4 separate regions of the Homo sapiens genome follow, and all the other regions are linked to region 2. The links are contacts of gene promoters, found by promoter capture Hi-C in blood cells and fetal thymus (Javierre and others, 2016). All regions are on one chromosome and are shown on one strand. The core of a region is centred on a gene start or on the middle of the fragment in contact, and the rest is flanking DNA. Distances in the headings are between cores, read along the strand shown. Region 1 has its middle 16 kb from the start of RESF1. Region 2 holds the start of H3-5 (H3.5 histone). Region 3 has its middle 41 kb from the start of RESF1. Region 4 overlaps RESF1 (retroelement silencing factor 1).

The links. The method cuts DNA at HindIII sites, captures the fragments that hold promoters and counts their contacts. A CHiCAGO score of 5 or more calls a contact.
Region 1: a fragment that was not itself captured here is called in contact with the fragment with the promoter of H3-5 in region 2 in 4 of 17 cell types (non-activated CD4 T cells, activated CD4 T cells, naive CD8 T cells and 1 more); the score reaches 8.3 in non-activated CD4 T cells.
Region 3: a contact is called between a fragment that was not itself captured here and the fragment with the promoter of H3-5 in region 2, in 4 of 17 cell types (non-activated CD4 T cells, total CD8 T cells, activated CD4 T cells and 1 more). The highest score is 8.5, in non-activated CD4 T cells.
Region 4: a contact is called between a fragment that was not itself captured here and the fragment with the promoter of H3-5 in region 2, in 4 of 17 cell types (total B cells, non-activated CD4 T cells, activated CD4 T cells and 1 more). The highest score is 6.4, in total B cells.

Annotation. Positions count from the first base shown.
Region 1 is chr12:31,941,276-31,945,758 of GRCh38, forward strand. No RefSeq gene overlaps it. Among named protein-coding and RNA genes, the nearest start is that of RESF1, 16 kb to the right of the region's middle. The HindIII fragment of the contact is 974 bases long and covers 825-1,798 here.
Region 2 is chr12:31,789,845-31,794,570 of GRCh38, forward strand. It overlaps H3-5 (H3.5 histone), which reads right to left and starts at 2,454. Exons shown (of 1, transcript NM_001013699.3): 1 at 1,341-2,454. The coding sequence starts at 2,322. The coding sequence ends at 1,915. The HindIII fragment of the contact is 13,966 bases long and covers 111-4,726 here.
Region 3 is chr12:31,997,712-32,002,730 of GRCh38, forward strand. No RefSeq gene overlaps it. Among named protein-coding and RNA genes, the nearest start is that of RESF1, 41 kb to the left of the region's middle. The HindIII fragment of the contact is 186 bases long and covers 2,746-2,931 here.
Region 4 is chr12:31,980,950-31,985,461 of GRCh38, forward strand. RESF1 (retroelement silencing factor 1) reads left to right here. Exons shown (of 6, transcript NM_018169.4): 4 at 1-4,512. The coding sequence starts at 7. Among named protein-coding and RNA genes, the nearest start is that of RESF1, 24 kb to the left of the region's middle. The HindIII fragment of the contact is 3,126 bases long and covers 676-3,801 here.

The sequences.
Region 1 (4,483 bases), core at 62-2,561, 150 kb after region 2:
AAGCAATTCTTGTGCCTCAGCCTCCTGAGTAGCCGGGATTACAGGCATGTGCCACCATGCCCAGCTAATTTTTGTATTTTTAGTACAGATGGGGTTTTACTATGTTGGCCAGGCTGGTCTCAAACTCCTGACCTCAGGTGATCCACTTACCTCGGCCTCCCAAAGTGCTGGGATTACAGGCATGAGACTCCATGCCTGGCTGGGTATTTTTTTGTAGTTGTTGTTGTTGTTTTGAGACAGAGTCTCACTCTGTCACCAGGCTGGAATGCAGTGGCGTAATCTCGGCTCACTGCAACCTCCGCCTCCTCGGCTCAAGTGATTCTCCTGCCTCAGCCTCTTGAGTAGCTGGGACTACAGGTGTGCACCACCACACCCAGCTAAGTTTTGTGTTTTTAGTACAGATGGGGTTTCACCATGTTGGCCAGGATGGTCTCGATCTCTTGACCTCTTGATCCACCCACCTCCGCCTCCCAAAGTGCTTAGATTACAGCCATAAGCCACTGCGCCCAGCCCTGGCTTGGTATTATTTTCAATTGGGAAAATAGCTGGGGTCTTTAAGCTGTGTTTTGACTGGCACTTTTGTTTTAGCCTTCCCCGGTTTCCCAGTATACCATGCTAGCAGGTTAGCCTGTTTATTAATGTGGTCTGGGACATTGTATTTTTGACTATTAGCAATTTCACTGGGTGATGCTTAAATTGTAGTAGTGCCCCTATTTTAACCATAATATCTCTTCCCAACAGGAGGACTGGGCAGCTTGGTACTACTAGAAATTCCTGTTGGAAAAATTGTTTCTCAAATTGACAAATCAAAGGAGGAGTGAAGAAGCTTGTTTGTGGCCTTCCTTCCATTCCCATAACACTCATTGACTGGGAGGAAGGTTTTCCTGCACAAGCAGTAAGGACAGACTAATTTGCTCCTGTATCAAAAAGAAACTGAATTTGGGGGCCCATCACAGCCAGAGTTACCCGGGGCTCCTCATCTAATTCCTCCTTTTGTACTGCTAGAGCTTTGACTGACTGAGCCCCTCAGTGGGAACTGGGGCAGTCAATCCTCCAGTGCCAGGGGTCATAACCAGTACCCTCACGTTTTTGGCAAGGGCCTGGCATATGCTTAGTACAATTCTTTGCACAATGCCCAGCTTTCTTGCATTTGAAGCAAGAGCCCTTGCTGGCATTATCCTTATGGCTCTTCTGGTTTCCTTTGGACACTCTTTGGGCATTCACAGCATCGCCAATGATGGCTTCCATAATTTTGGCTTGCCATTTTTCTTTTCTTTTCTTTTTTTTTTTTTTTTTGAGACAGAGTTTCACTTTTCTTGCCCAGGCTGGAGTGCAATGGCACAATCTTGGCTCACCGCAACCTCCGCCTCCTGGGTTCAAGTGATTCTCCTGCCTCAGTCTCCTGAGTAGCTGAGATTACAGGCATGTGCCAGCAGGCTTAGCTAATTTTGTATTTTTAGTAGAGACGGGGTTACTCCATGTCGGTCAGGCTGGTCTTGAACTCCCAACCTCAGGTGATCCGCCTGCCTCGGCCTCCCAAAGTGCTGGAATTACGGGTGTGATCCACTGTGCCCAGCCTGCTTGCCGTTTTATTTTGCTCCCTTTTTCCTTCCACCAGGTCACGATTGTTATAAACCATAAAGGTGGTATCAAGAAGCTGATTTTGATTAGTTTGTGGCCCCATCTGTAGTTTTTGGAGCTTATGTCTAACGGCTGGGGCAGATTGGCTAATGAAATGCTGTGCCATTCCTATTTTGCCTTTGGGAGAAGAAGGGTCCAGATTAGTGTATTTGTTAAAAGCTTCCTCCAGCCTGCCATGAAACATGGCTGAATTTTCCTCCTTTCCCTGTGTAACCTCCCTTACTTTATCATAATTTACTGCTTTAGTTATTCCCTTTCTCATTCCTCCAAGGAGAGCCTAAAGAAATTTAGCCCAGTTGTTCATTCCCATGGGTGTGTTATAGTCCCAGTTAGGATCAGTAGTAGGGACTGTGTCTGGTCCTGGGTGATTGCCCTGAGGGTTTCGGGCAAATAAATTGTCTGCTTCCTGGCGGGCAGCCTCAAGGATGTGTTCCTTTTCAAAGGAGGTGTAACAGATTGCTAGAATGAATTGAGCGTCCCTCCATGAGAGATCAAAGGCTAAGGTCAAAGTCTGGAGCCCATCTATGAATTTCCTGGGATTCTCAGAACAGCTTCCTCACTTTCCCTTATGTTATTGTATATTAGTTATAGAGAAGGGGACCTGCACTAGGACTGGCCCCTTGGCTTCTGCTACTTCCTAAGGGGTAGCAGGGCTGGAGGGAGAGTTGAATGTGCTGTTCCCCTCCGAGTGTGAGGGGGACTGAGTAGGGTCCCCAGTGTTTGGGTTTTAGCCTCAGGAACACTTGGCAAGCGGCTATATGGAGGCAGTTGCTGTTCACCCTGAGAGACAGGTGGCCCTTGTAAAAGGGGGTCATCTATAATATCTAGTTCTGCCTTTGGACTTCCCTGTGGGGGAATTATTAGGTTTTGGTATAGGGCCATGAAGGCCTATACATATGGGATTTCTGACCATTTGCCCTGCCTTTTAAAAAACAGGTCTAATTGCAGGATGGTGTCATAATTAAGGCTACTATTGACCACCCATTGTTCCAGGCTGGGGAGCTTATAATGGGGACAAACAGTATTGGAGAAACAAAAATCATACGTTTTCTCTTTAGATTGTCAGGGTCAAATTGATTTCAATCCCAGAGGATGCAGCCAAGTGGGGAATCAGGTGGAATTGATGGAGAGTTGCCCATAGTGGTCTAGAAAAGAGAAGAGAACTTTGAAAAGTTGAGGGCTCATTAAGTAACCGAAATTTTAGCTGGGGTATCCCCCTGGAAAAATTCTGGCCCCTGATTGGGGTTCCCAGGGGGCATACCCTTAAGGGCCCCATCTTAGCCTGTCAGATGTCGCTAAACTCACATGGGTGCTAGCACCACTTTGGAATGGTTCCCTCCACCACTGATGGCCCACTATGAGCTTTCCCTCTTGTCCCTGGATGAAGGCCTTGACTTCTAGAATTAATTTGTAGTCAAACCTTTGGATTTTTTTTCCTATCCCACTTAAAACAATTATTTAACTCTCTACATTTAGGCAAGATTAAATTGTATATAAATTCCCTCTTATGAATCCACCCCCATGACTCACACAGACCATCTACAACATGCCCAAGCCCTCTGACTTGTCCTTAGCCAGTCGAGTAGGGAAGGAAAGAATTCAGCATAAGGAAAGAAGGTTTAAGTCACCTGAAACATGTATGAGTTAGCCCCGGGTGAGCTTCCACTGCCAATTACGTCACACATAGGGATCAGGGACTATAACCAGAAAAGATAGAAAAGAGTCCTTCCCCGTTCCAGGCAAGGCAGCCATCCCCATTCACTCCTTGGCCTTCAGGTTACACCAGAGACTGGCCCCAGCCAGTTGCCTTCAATTACCAACAGTCTACTAGAAAATGGCCGCTGAAAGACCGAAAAAGTAAAGGACTTGGTCTCAAGCCAGTTGGTGGCGGTCAGGCGCTTCCACATGGAAACCTTTCAGTTTCACTGGAGAGTGGCCCTGGCCAGAAACATGCTGTTGCCTCCATGCTTAGGCGCTGTCCACCAAGGATCCCAAATTGGAAAGGAAGAGAGAAAGAGAAAGAGGAAAAAGAGAAAAATAAATCCCAAACTTTGGGCTTACCTCCTGGCTGGCTCACCAAAATATGTTACCAGTTGAGGGTAGCTGTCCCAGTTCTTGGCATTTTAAACAAAGAATTGGACAAACACACAAAGCAAGACAGTGAAAGCAGAGATTTATTTTAAATGAAAGTACACTCCCCAGGGTTGGAGCCATCTCCAGCAAGTGGTTCACAGTATCGGTTACAGAATTTTCTGGGGTTTAAATACCCTCTAGAGGTTTCCCGTTGGTTCTATGCAAATAAAGTAGTGGCCAAGAACCAGTCTGATAGGATGCGGGAGGGGACCAATCAGAAGTACCTTCACGTTTCCTTTTTTTTTTTTTTTTTTTTTTTTGAGAGGGAGTTTTGCTCTTGTTGCCCAGGCTGGAGTGCAATGGTGACATCTTAGCTCACTGCAACATCCACCTCCCAGGTTCAAGCCATTCTCCTGCCTCAGCCTCCTGAGTAGCTGGGATTACAGGCATGCACCACCATGCCCGGCTAATTTTGCCTTTTTAGTAGAGACGGGGTTTCTCCATGTTGGTCAGGCTGGTCTCAAACTCCCAACCTCAGGTGATCCGCCAGCTTCAGCCTCCCAAAGTGTTGGGATTACAGGTGTGAGCCACCGCACCTGGCTGTACCTTCATTTTTCAACTGCCATGCAGAAAAAGGAGGGGTTGTAAAGGGAGTAGTCTCTGATATCCAGTCAGCAATCGGCCTTAGGTTCCCTGCCTCTAGACCCTATTTTCCTGCCTCAAATCTAGAGGCAGAAAAGTGGTGTTTTCATTCAAGAATGAGGGCTGA
Region 2 (4,726 bases), core at 1,204-3,703:
CCCACTATATCGACTAATCAAGCCCATCCTGTACCATAGTCTGGAAAAGGCTGACATTCCTAAAAGCTTTGCACTCTAAGATAAGCCACGAAAACCAGAAATATTTCAAAAGCTTTGAATTCCAAGATAAGCCGTGAAGTTATTTTTTATGCAAAAGACAGAAACATACTGTTTTTCTTTTTATCAAGACTGACCCCAAAGTTATCCAATCAGAATTGTTGACTAATATATAACAATCTGAGCTATCTCCTGACTTTGTGATTTTTTTTTTTTTTAGACAGTCTTGCTCTTGACACCCAGGCTGGAGTGCAATGGTGCGATTTCGGCTCACTGCAACCTCCACTTCCTGGGTTCAGGCAATTCTCCTGCCTCAGCCTTGACAGTAGCTGGGATTACAGGCGCCCACCACCACATCCAGCTAATTTTTGTATTTTTAATAGAGACGGGATTTCACCATGTTATAGTTCAAATACTTTTTTAAAAATTAGATGTGCTAGTTCTGTACTAACTTGTCTTTTTTTGCAAGTTAAAATGCTAGTCAGTTCTCAAATTTGTCTGTGAATTTTGCAGGATAGAGTATAAAATTCCTTAAATCCTAATTCCAAGCTCTTTACAATGTGGGCCCTACATCCCTAAAGTTTTCTCCTTTGCGTAAATACTACACTTGAGACAAACTAATTGTTTTCCCCCAACATAAACTTTATAGTTCTCTTCTGTTGCATTTCTACTCTCCAATATTTCTGATTCTTTTCCTCTCTTTTTTTTTTTTTGGATAAACAAGTTTATTTGTAAATTTAGTCAACATACATAATTGACCTAAAAACTTCAATAAGATAAATTTTAAAACCACTTGGAAGGCCATCTCTATAAAAATGATTTTCCCAGGACAGTAACCAGATGTAACCTAACCTAACACCATCTTAACCGGCAGAGGTTCAGTGGGCTAGAGCTTTGTGCTCCTCCCCTACACCAAGTTTTTATAATACAAATGCCACAAGAAAAAGAACTTCAGTACTGTTTCCTCTTAGCAGAGGAGAAAACTCAACCTAGTTATGAGACCAACCACACAACACAATGAAAAGCTGCACTAGTTCAGAATATTAGTTAACAGATGATGCTGGTGTGAATAACTCATATTTTTTTCTAGAGCCCTTATAAATAAAATCCCCCAGTTAGTGTTTCCATTATCAGCTAGAGGGTTAGTTAACATGTGGTAGAATGAGGATTTATGCAAGGTATAAATGCACATAGCATTTTACTACTATGAGAACAAGTGCAGTCAGAAGAAAACCAACTGGACTCTAAATTACACACACCTTAATGACAAGACTCCCCACCACTTGTGAATGTAAAACATTTAATTTGAAAATGTTGACACTACAATATATAAAATAGCTATTATAAATGCACATATTGTATTCTATAGCTGCCAGGTTTAATTTTTTTTTTTTAAAGGAAACTATAAGTTACACTGTGGTTAAGGTTTGTATCTTCACCCTTGAAAAAGCCTACATTCTATCACAGTGATGTATGGTCAGACTTAACAGCCCCAATTGTTAAACACTTGGATCAAGTCATAACCAGTTTTATTGCAAAAGGACCCTGTTGTACACATTTATCAATTCTAGTACCTTAATAGCTACCCAACAAGTCATTAACATACAGAAACATGCATCATGAGAAGCAAGAAATATCACGCATCCGTTTTGCATATTAACAACTTGTCACTCCTGAGCAACAGTGCTGACATCACTGAGGTCTGTAAACAGTCACTTTTCGCATTCATCCTGAGTGAAAGATGGAATGACTTAAGTACAAATGCAACATATAAACAATTTCTTACAAAAAAAGTCACCAATTAAACCAAAGTATTTTACAGAATTTACTACAAAATGCCATAAAAACTGCCTTCACTTAAGCTCTCTCTCCCCGTATCCGGCGAGCCAACTGGATGTCTTTGGGCATGATGGTGACTCTCTTAGCGTGGATGGCACACAGGTTAGTATCTTCCAACAGACCCACCAGGTACGCTTCGCTAGCCTCCTGCAGCGCACCGACGGCTGCGCTCTGAAACCTCAGGTCAGTGTTGAAATCCTGCGCGATCTCCCTCACCAACCTCTGGAAGGGCAGCTTCCGGATGAGCAGCTCGGTCGACTTCTGATAACGACGAATCTCTCGAAGCGCCACGGTCCCAGGCCTGTAGCGATGAGGCTTCACCCCGCAGGTAGAGGGGGTGCTTTTCCTGGCAGCTTTCGTGGCCAGCTGTTTGCGGGGGGCTTTCCCACCGGTGGATTTACGAGCAGTCTGCTTGGTTCGGGCCATTTTCTTTCACCCAACGCCGAAGTTTTAGGCCACTTCTCCGACCTCCGCGCTGCTTCCGCTGCCCGAGGAAGAGCCGCAGTCGCGAGCGAAGAACCGACACTGGTCCAACGAACGACCAAACCGCTCTGCGCCCTCCTCTCTTTTATCTGCATCCCTTCCATTCTTCAAAGCCCATTTCGGTGTTTCGTTTTTTGTTGTTGTTTTGTTTTTTGAGACGGAGTCTCGCTTTGTTGCCCAGGCTGGAGTGCAGTGGCGTGATTTCGGTTCACTACAACCTCCACCTCCCAGGTTCGAGCGATTCTCCTGCCTCAGCCTCCAGAGTAGCTGGGATTACAGGCGCCTGCCACCACACCTGGTTAATTTTTGTATTTTTAGTAGAGACGGAGTTTCACCATGTTGGCCAGGCTGGTCTCAAACTCCTGACCTCAGGTGATCCGCCCGCCGCAGCCTCCCAAATTACTGGGATTACAGGTGTGAGCCACTGCACCCGGCCTTTCAAAGCTCATTTCAATCCCACCTCCGTCACAAAGCATTCTTCAGCCACCTTCGTTTTCATCCTTTTTTTCTCTGCACTCTTTCTACCCTTATCATTTACTTGACACTATGCAAATTCTACATGTATATGTATTTCTCATTTATTTTTAGTAATTATCTTTTTTCTTATTATAAAAGTAATACTTGTCCAATTTAAAATACAAAAAATATAGAGAAACAAACTGAAATGTGGAATCACATGTGATAAACACACACACAAGTTGGCTGAATATCTGTTACTCTTGGAATGGGGAAAGAATCATCTAGTCATCTGCCAAGAGGTATAAACCTAAAGTTTAGAAACAGAAATCTGACTTTTAAATGTTACAGTTCTATATGATATTTGTTCCATGGAGTAAATCATAAAGTTTCTCTCTCTCTCTCTCTTTTTTTTTTTTTTTTTTGTTTTTTGGGAGATGGAGTTTCACTGTCCTCACCCAGGCTGGAGTGCAATGGCACGATCTCGTCTCGCTGAAACCTCCACCTCCCAGGTTCAAGCAATTCTCCTGTCTCAGCCTCCCAAGTAGCTGGGATTACAGGTGCCTGCCACCACACCTGGCTAATTTTTGTATTTTTAGTAGAGACGGGGGTTTTACCATTTTCGCCAGGCTGGTCTCGAACTCCTGACGTGAAGTGATCCACCCACTTCAGCCTCCCAAAGTGCTGGGATTACAGGAGTGAGCCACCGTGCCTGGCCACAAAGTATCTCTTTTGTCAGGTGAGTTTTTTAACTTCTAGAAATATGCCACAAAGTGAGCCAGGTGTGGTGGCTCCGCCTGTAATGGTAGCACTGGGAGGCCGAGGCAGGTGGATCACGAGGTCAGGAGTTTGAGACGAGCCTGGCCAACATGGCAAAACCTGTCTCTACTAAAAATACAAAAATTAGCCAAGCGTGGTGGCATACGCCTGTAGTCCCAGCTACTCGGGAGGCTGAGGCAGGAGACTTGCTTGAACCTAGGAGGCAAATGTTGCAATGAGCCCAGATTGCACTACTGCACTCCAGCCAGGGTAACAGAGTGAGACTTTGCCTCCAAAAATAAAAAAATAAAATAACGAAAAGCTATTGGATTGACCATTGATACTTTCCACATCTGAAGAAATCTACCTTATTTTCAAAAGGGCAAAAAAAGGAAGGGTTCCCCGCCCCAGGTTAAAATATAGTAAAATCTCTGAGTAATTCATAACAAATAAAGCACCTTCACACTACCATAAATCTCTACACTGTGTTCCAATCTGTTGAGTGCCTGAATCCAATGACAGCTTTGGACGTCCCCTTCCCCCATAATCTCTGTGCAGACCCTCAACCTCACCCCAGATGCCTTTGGAGTTTTCATTCTTTATTATAAGCAATTGATAGTTTCTCAGACTTTTATATACAGCGTAAAGAAAATCCGTACCCAGCCGGGCGGTGGCTCACGCCTGTAATCCCAGCACTTTGGGAGGCCGAGGCGGGCGGATCACGAGGTCAGGAGATGGAGACCATCCTGGCTAACACGGTGAAACGCCGTCTCTACTAAAAATACAAAAAAAAATAGGTGGGCATGGTAGCAGGCGCCTGTGGTCCCAGCTACTCGGGAGGCTGAGGCAGGAGAATGACGTGAACCCGGGAGGCGGAGCTTGCAGTGAGCGGAGATCGCGCCACTGCACTTCAGCCTGGGCGACTGAGCGAGACTCCTCCAAAAACAAAAACAAAAACAAACAAAAAAAAGAAAATCCGTACCCTTACTACTACACTAGGGGCACAAGGCGGGGAAGAGACTCAAACAATAAGAGCTACTACTGTTTGCTGAACACTTATGTACTGAGTACATTCCATCCTCAGAATCAACCTTAAACTGTTAACATCCTCATTTTACAGATGAGGAAAATG
Region 3 (5,019 bases), core at 1,589-4,088, 210 kb after region 2:
TGAAAACTAAAAGATGGGCACAGTGGCTCACCAAGGTCAGGAGATGACTGGACACAGTGCCTCATGCCTGTAATCCCAGCACTTTGGTGGGCCAAGGTGAGCAGTATTGCTTGAGTCCAAGAGTTCAAGACCAGTACAACATGCTGAAACCCGGTCTCTACCAAAAGTACAAAAATTAGCCAGGTTTGGTGGTGTGCACCTGTAATGCCAGCTACTTGGGAGGCTGAGGTGGGAGGATTACTTCAGCCCTGTCTCCACCCCCCCCCCCAACCAAAAAAAAAAAAAAACAGAACCAGGAAAACATTAACCTTGGCTTCCACGTAGTCAGGATCATCAGTATCACTTGTCTTCCTCCTCTACATCTTGCCCCATTGGAAGGTCACCAAGGGCAGTAACACGCATGGAGCTGTCATCTCCTGTGATAACAGTGCCTTCTGGAACACCTGAAGGACCTGGCTGAGGCTGTTTTATAGTTTTTGTTTTGTTTTGTTTTTGAGACGGAGCCCCGCTTTGTCGCACAGGCTGGAGTGCAGTGGCGCAGTCTTGGCTTGCCGCAACCTATGCCTCCCAGGTTCAGGCAATTCTCCTGCTTCAGCCTCCCGAGTAGCTGGGACAACAGGTGTGAGCCACCGCACCCAAGCCTATTTTTTAATTTATTTAAATTTAAAAATATTTTTTAGTTTTTTAAAAAGTAGGAAGCTGGGCACAGTGGCTCACGCCTGTAATCCCAACACTTTGAGAGGCCGAGGCAGGCGAATCACGAGGTCAGGAGATTGAGACCATTCTGGCCAACATGGTGAAACCCCATCTCTACTAAAAGTACAAAAAATTAGCTGGGCATGGTGGTGTATGCCTGTAGTCCCAGCTACTCGGGAGGCTGAGGTAGAAGGATCACTTGAACCCAGGAGGCGGAGGTTGCAGCGAGCTATCACACCACTACACTCCAGCCTGGCGACAGAGTGAGACTTCGTCTAAAAAAAAAATAAGTAGGAATAAATTAACCTACATAAAAAGCATAACATACTAAACACAAACCAGTAACAGTCATTTATCATTGTCAAGTATTATGTACTGTATATATTTTTAAGTCAGATTTGTAAAAATATAAAACTGCCAATCTTTTCTCATTCTCCTGGTAAGTATTTTTCATAAACATTTATTTGGCTGGGTGCAGTGGCTCACGCCTGTAATCCCAACACTTTGGGAGGCCGAGCTGGGTGGATCACCTAAGGTCAGAGGTTTGAGACTAGCCTGGCCAAAATGGTGAAACCCTGTCCCTACTAAAAATACAAACATTGGTGGGCTCGGTGGCTCATGCCTGTAATCCCAGCACTTTGGGAGGCCAAGGCTGGTGAATCACGAGGTCAGGAGTTCGAGACCAGCCTGGCCAACATGGTGAAACCCCGTCTCTACTAAAAATACAAAAATTAGCTGGGCGTGGTGGCTTGGGCCTGTAGTCCCAGCTACTCAGGAGGCAGAGGTTGCAGTGAGTCAAGATCAAGCCACTGCACTCCAGCCTGGGCGACAGAGTGAGACTGTCTCAAAAAAACAAACAAAAATACAAAAGTTAACTGGGTGTGATGGCACGTGCCTGTAGTCTCAGCTGCTCAGGAGTCTGAGGCAGAGGTTGTAGTGAGCTGAGACTGCGCGCCACTGCACTCCAGCCTGGGAGACAGTGAGACTCAGTCTCAAAAAAAAAAAATTATATGAATGTAATGGGTTCATCATTTTAAAATGAAGTATCTTCAAAATTTGTTTCAAGTTCTCATGGAATCGATATTGATAAATATATCTTGGTATTCTTCAGTTTTTAAGGTTGTAAAAATAAATACTTTTTTGGAGATAGGGTCTCTCTCACCCAGGCTGGGGTGCAGTGGTGCGATCTTGGCTCACTGCAACCCCTGCCTCCTGGGCTTGGACAGTCCTCCCACTCTAGCCGCACAAGTAGCTGGGACCACAGGCCCATGCCACTGGCCTGCTAATTTTTGTATTTTGGGAGTTTTTTTGTAGATAATAGGGTTTCGCCATGTTGCCCAGGATGGTGAACTCCTGGGCTCAAGCAATCTGCCCACCTCAGCCTCTCGAAGTGTTGGGATTACAGGGGTGAGCCGCTATGCCCGGTCCCAAAGTCAGTCTCTAACCTAATCTCTGAAATGATGTGTCAATTTTGCTACTTTCTATTTGCTAGAAGTGAGTCACAGAATTCCAGCCCATACTCAAGGGGGTTATCCAAGGGCATAAATATTAGGAAATGTGCTTTTTAAAAGTTTCTGGAGGCTGGGTGGCGTGGCTTACGCCTGTAACCCCAGCACTTTGGGAGGCTGAGGTGGGTAGATTACCTGAGGTCAGGAGTTTTGAGACCAGCCTGGCCAACATGGCAAAACCTTGTGTCTACTAAAAATACAAAAATTAGCCAGGCACGGCTGGGCACGGTGGCTCAATCCCAGCACTTTGGGAGGCTGAGACAGGCGGATCATGAGGTCAGAAGATGGAGACCATCCTGGCTCATATGGTGAAACCCCGTCTCTACTAAAAAATGTAAAAAAAAAAAAAATTAGCCAGGTGTGGTGGTGGGCGCCTGTAGCCCCAGCTACTCGGGAGGCTGAGGCAGGAGAATGGTGTGAACCCGGGAGGCAGAGCTTGCAATGAGCCAAGATCGCGCCACTGCCCTCCAGCCTGGGCGAGAGAGTGAGACTCTGTCTCAAAAAAATAAAAATGTGTATCTCTGTCATTGGGATTCCTATAAGCTTGTGCCTAGACAGGATAGTTATTTTATCTTTAAGACCCTGTTAAAGCCTGCCTGAGGTCTTATCTGCATTCCCCTGTGGGCTGACTCAGCACCTGGTTGCCTTGTATTCTCCTGATTATGAATCTTTCAACCTCTAGGACATGGACCATTAACGTTTAGTATACTTGGCTGTAGCTACTTTAAGCTTAGATATCTGCCTTCGAATATTCTACCTTTTTTAAAATAAAATATAAATGTCTAGTGATTCTTTCGTTGTTGTTTTTATTTTTTGGAGACACGGTCTTGCTGTGCCACCCAGACTCGAGTGCAATGGTGTGGTCACAGCTCACTGCAGCCTTGACCTTCTGGGCTCAAGTGATCCTCCCACCTCAGCCTCCTGAGTAGCTGGGACTGCAGGCGTGCACCACCATCCTTGGATAATTTTTTATTTTTTAGAGAAATGAGGTCTCCCTGTGTTGCCCAGTCTGGTCAGGCTCAAGCAATCCTCCCATGTCAGCTTCCCAAAGTGCTGGATTACAAGCATAAGCCACCATGCCTGGCTGTATCCTGCTTTCTGTTATAATAGAGTGGATTTTGTCATCTTGATAGCCCACACAACGTTGGTCCGTTTCTTTGATGATATTATGCTAATTGGACCTGACAAGCAGAAAATAATAAACATCCTACAAGACTTAATAAAACACATGCATGACGGGATGGGAAGGAAATCTTGAATAAAAATTCATGATTGACCACATTCGTAAGGTTTTTAGGGTCTGATTGTAGTCTTGTGTATATTGTACCATCTACCACAAAGAGAAATGTTTGATGAGCCTGTGTGAAGTTTGGAGGGAACATACACCATCTATGGACATGCCACCTTATGGACGTGTCACCCTAAGCAATTTATCAGGTAACACACACACAGCTCTAATTTCTTTTTTTTTTGAGATGGAGTCTCGCTCTCTCGCCCAGGCTGGAGTGCAGTGGCCCCATCTCAGCTCACTGCAAGCTCCGCCTCCTGGGTTCACGCCATTCTCCTGCCTTGGCCTCCTGAGTAGCTGGGGCTACAGGCACCCGCCACCACACCCAGCTAATTTTTTTGTATTTTTTAGTAGAGACGGGGTTTCACCATGTTAGCCAGGATGGTCTCGACCTCCTGAGTTCGTGATCTGCCCGCCTCGGCCTCCCAAAGTGCTGGGATTACAGGTGTGAGCCACCGCACCCGGCCCACACAGCTCTAATTTTATGTGAGGCCTCAAGCAAGCAAAGGCTCCACAGCAGGACCAGGCTGTGGTGCAAGCTGCCCTGCCCCTTGGGCCTAATGGCCCAGCAGGCCCAATGGTACAGGGAATTTCTACTGTGTGTGAAACCTCTTGCTTTTAGGAGAATCCTAGTAAACCCCCTATGACCTTTTCTGACAAGTACATTCCATTTGAACACAAATTGTAAAACCTGAACTGTTGATGAATTTGATGTCATCTGATTCCAAAAACCATAAAATTTGACTCATGCAGCAGCATTTCATTGTTAAATGAAAATGTATATGTAAGACTAGCCCAAGCAGTTCCTGAGGACACAATTAAAACATACAAGCGGCCGGGCACGGTGGCTCACGCCTGTAATCCCAGCACTTTGGGAGGCTGAGGTGGGCGGATCACGAGGTCAGGAGATGGAGACCACCCTGGCTAACCCAGTGAAACCCTGTCTCTACTAAAACTACAAAAAAATTAGCCGGGCATGGTGGCGGGCGCCTGTAGTCCCAGCTACTCGGGAGGCTGAGGCAGGAGAATGGCGTGAACCTGGGAGGCGGAGGTGGCAGTGAGCCGAGATCGTGCCACTGCACTCCAGCGTGGGCGACACAGCAAGACTCCATCTCAAAAAAAAAAAAAAAAAAAAAATCAAGTAGCTTGCTCGGGGTTCCATAACACCTCTTCCTTCTGTTTCTCTGGCTTTCCCTCAGTCCACATATAAGGCTTCATGAGAGAAGACACGAATGGATATAAACCAATGGGAATAAACCAAGACAAGTCCTGGTTTATGAATTGGTCTGCACAGTATGCTGGCTCCAGCTGGAAGTATTACATAGCCTCACTTAGAGATGACCCTAAGAGACAGTGATAAAGCCAACCTCATATCTTGCTACCAGAAGCACATGAGAATAATTCTTTTAAGAGGCTTTAAAATCCCAGCTACTCAGGAGGGTGAAGTGGGAGGATCCCTTGAGCATCGGAGCTTGAGACCAGCCTGGACAACATAGTAGGACACTGCCTCAATAAAAAATTAAGTAA
Region 4 (4,512 bases), core at 989-3,488, 190 kb after region 2:
CCGACAATGAATTGGAATGAAAAACCAAAGAGTGCTACATTACCACCACTGTATCCTAAAAGCCAGCCACCTTTTTTGCACCAGTCTTTAATAAACCAAATTACCACAACATCTCAGAGTTCTTTCAGCTATCCTGGAAGTAACCAAGAAGCATGCATGTATCCCGGTAATTCAAATCCAATTTCACAGCCACTGCTGAATATCCAAAATTATCCTCAACAAATTTCTGTTTCTGATATGCATAATGGGACAGTTGTGGCCTCACACACTTCAGTAGAAAGAATAACATATGCAAATGTTAATGGACCCAAACAACTAACTCACAATTTGCAGATGTCTTCAGGAGTTACCCAAAACGTATGGTTGAACTCACCAATGAGGAATCCTGTGCATTCTCATATAGGGGCAACTGTATCTCATCAAACTGATTTTGGAGCTAACGTACCCAATATGCCGGCACTACAGAGTCAACTGATAACATCAGATACCTATTCTATGCAAATGCAGATGATCCCTTCTAATTCTACACGACTTCCTGTAGCTTACCAAGGAAATCAGGGACTTAACCAGTCTTTTTCAGAGCAACAGGTTGATTGGACACAACAGTGTATATCTAAGGGACTGACTTACCCAGATTACAGACCACCTCCAAAGCTATACCGTTACTCACCACAAAGCTTTTTACCAGATTCTACCATTCAAAAACAAAACTTTATACCACATACATCATTGCAAGTTAAAAATAGTCAGCTTCTAAATTCTGTATTAACTTTACCATCAAGGCAGACCTCAGCTGTACCATCACAGCAGTATGCCACGCAAACTGACAAAAGACCTCCTCCTCCTCCTTACAACTGTAGATATGGAAGCCAGCCTTTGCAAAGTACTCAGCATATTACTAAACACTTGTCTATGGAAGTTCCTCAGAGTCGAGAAATGCTGTCATCTGAAATAAGGACCAGCTTTCAACAGCAGTGGCAAAACCCTAATGAAAATGTCAGCACAATTGGAAATTTCACTAACTTGAAAGTAAATACCAACAGCAAACAGCCTTTTAACAGTCCCATTAGATCTTCTGTGGATGGTGTTCAGACTCTTGCTCAAACTAATGAAGAGAAAATAATGGATTCTTGCAATCCAACTTCAAATCAAGTACTGGACACAAGTGTTGCAAAAGAAAAGCTAGTAAGGGATATTAAAACATTAGTAGAGATAAAACAGAAGTTTTCAGAACTTGCAAGGAAAATTAAAATCAATAAAGATCTTTTGATGGCAGCAGGTTGTATTAAAATGACTAATACTTCTTATAGTGAACCAGCTCAGAATTCTAAATTGTCTCTAAAACAAACTGCCAAAATCCAGTCTGGACCCCAGATAACTCCAGTAATGCCAGAGAATGCAGAGAGACAAACACCAACAGTAGTGGAATCTGCAGAAACAAATAAGACTCAATGTATGTTGAATTCTGACATTCAGGAAGTCAATTGCAGAAGGTTTAACCAAGTTGATTCTGTTTTACCAAATCCTGTCTATTCTGAAAAGCGGCCAATGCCAGACTCATCTCATGATGTGAAAGTTCTCACTTCAAAGACATCAGCTGTTGAGATGACCCAGGCAGTATTGAATACTCAGCTTTCATCAGAAAATGTTACCAAAGTTGAGCAAAATTCACCAGCAGTTTGTGAAACAATTTCTGTTCCCAAGTCCATGTCCACTGAGGAATATAAATCAAAAATTCAAAATGAAAATATGCTACTTCTCGCTTTGCTTTCACAGGCACGTAAGACTCAGAAGACAGTATTAAAAGATGCTAATCAAACTATTCAGGATTCTAAACCAGACAGTTGTGAAATGAATCCAAATACCCAAATGACTGGTAACCAACTGAATTTGAAGAACATGGAAACTCCAAGTACTTCTAATGTAAGTGGCAGGGTTTTGGACAACTCCTTTTGCAGTGGACAAGAATCCTCAACAAAAGGAATGCCTGCTAAAAGTGACAGTAGCTGTTCCATGGAAGTGCTAGCAACCTGTCTTTCCCTGTGGAAAAAGCAACCTTCAGATACTGCAAAAGAAAAGGAGTGTGATAAACTCAGAACAAACACAACAGCAGTTGGAATTTCAAAGCCTGCTAACATCCACGTTAAGAGTCCTTGTTCAGTTGTGGGAAATTCAAATTCTCAGAATAAAATAAGTAATCCCTCACAGCAGACAGCTTTGTCGATGGTAATGCACAATTATGAGTCTTCAGGTATAAATATAACAAAGGGAACAGAACTTCAGATAGCTGTAGTGTCACCGTTAGTTCTGTCAGAGGTCAAAACATTGTCTGTCAAAGGAATAACACCTGCAGTGTTACCTGAAACAGTGTATCCCGTTATTAAAGAAGGCAGTGTTTGTAGTTTACAAAATCAATTGGCAGAAAATGCAAAGGCAACTGCTGCTTTGAAAGTTGATGTTAGTGGACCAGTAGCAAGTACAGCAACATCAACCAAGATTTTTCCACTAACTCAGAAGGAAAAGCAGAATGAGTCAACTAATGGTAATTCAGAAGTCACACCTAATGTCAATCAAGGAAAGCATAACAAATTAGAGTCAGCTATCCATTCTCCTATGAACGATCAGCAAATCTCACAGGAGTCAAGGAATAGTACTGTTGTGAGTAGTGATACATTACAGATTGACAATATTTGTTCTCTGGTTGAAGGTGATACCTCTTACAATTCCCAAATAGCAAAGATATTCAGCTCTCTTCCCTTGAAAATGGTTGAGCCACAGAAACCTTCTCTACCCAATCAGCAAGGGATTGGCAGCAGAGAACCAGAAAAACAATTAGATAATACCACTGAAAATAAAGACTTTGGTTTTCAAAAAGATAAACCTGTACAGTGCACAGATGTTTCACATAAAATATGTGATCAGTCAAAGTCAGAGCCACCCTTAGAGTCATCTTTTAACAATCTTGAAACAAACAGAGTTATTCTAGAGAAAAGTAGTTTGGAGCATGCCACTGAAAAAAGCACAGCTAACGATACGTGCTCGTCAGCTGCTATTCAGGAGGATATTTACCCTCAGGAAATAGATGCATCCAGCAACTATACTCCCCAAGATCCTGCAAGAAATGAAATCCACAGTGATAAGGCACCTGTCTTATACCTACATGACCAGCTGTCAGAACTTCTAAAAGAGTTTCCTTATGGCATTGAGGCTGTGAATACACGTGAAGGTTCTGTGGGCCAGCAAACTACATACCAGACCTCAGAAGATCAAACTGCTGATAAAACCAGTTCTGACTCCAAAGACCCAGCAGATCAAATACAAATTACAATATTAAGCTCAGAGCAAATGAAAGAAATATTTCCTGAACAGGATGATCAACCCTATGTAGTAGACAAGTTGGCAGAACCTCAGAAAGAAGAGCCCATCACAGAAGTAGTTAGCCAGTGTGACCTGCAGGCACCTGCAGCTGGACAAAGTCGTGATTCTGTGATACTGGACTCTGAGAAAGATGATATCCACTGCTGTGCATTGGGCTGGCTCTCCATGGTTTACGAAGGAGTACCCCAGTGTCAGTGTAATTCCATCAAGAACTCATCTTCAGAGGAAGAGAAACAAAAAGAGCAGTGTTCTCCTTTGGATACCAACAGTTGTAAACAAGGAGAGAGAACTTCTGATAGAGATGTCACTGTTGTTCAATTTAAGAGCCTTGTAAATAATCCAAAGACTCCTCCAGATGGGAAAAGTCATTTTCCTGAACTACAAGACGACAGTAGAAAAGATACACCCAAAACAAAACATAAAAGCTTACCAAGGACAGAACAAGAATTAGTTGCTGGTCAGTTTTCATCTAAATGTGATAAACTAAATCCCTTGCAAAATCACAAAAGAAAAAAATTGAGGTTTCACGAGGTAACCTTTCACTCCAGTAATAAAATGACAGCATCTTATGAACAAGCTTCTCAGGAAACCCGACAGAAGAAACATGTAACACAGAACTCACGTCCACTAAAAACAAAAACAGCTTTTTTGCCAAATAAAGATGTGTATAAGAAGCATAGTTCTTTGGGACAGTCATTATCACCAGAAAAGATAAAATTGAAACTCAAATCAGTTAGCTTCAAACAAAAACGAAAGTTAGACCAAGGGAACGTATTAGATATGGAAGTAAAGAAAAAGAAACATGATAAACAAGAACAGAAAGGAAGTGTGGGAGCTACATTCAAATTAGGTGACTCTTTGTCAAACCCAAACGAAAGAGCCATTGTTAAAGAAAAGATGGTATCAAATACTAAGTCTGTAGACACGAAAGCGAGTTCATCTAAATTTAGTAGAATTCTAACTCCTAAGGAGTATTTACAAAGGCAGAAGCATAAAGAAGCTCTGAGTAATAAAGCATCGAAGAAAATCTGTGTGAAAAACGTGCCATGTGATTCTGAACATATGAGACCAAGTAAACTTGCCGTGCAGGTTGAAAGTTGTGGGAAATCAAATGAGAAACACAGCAGCGGCGTG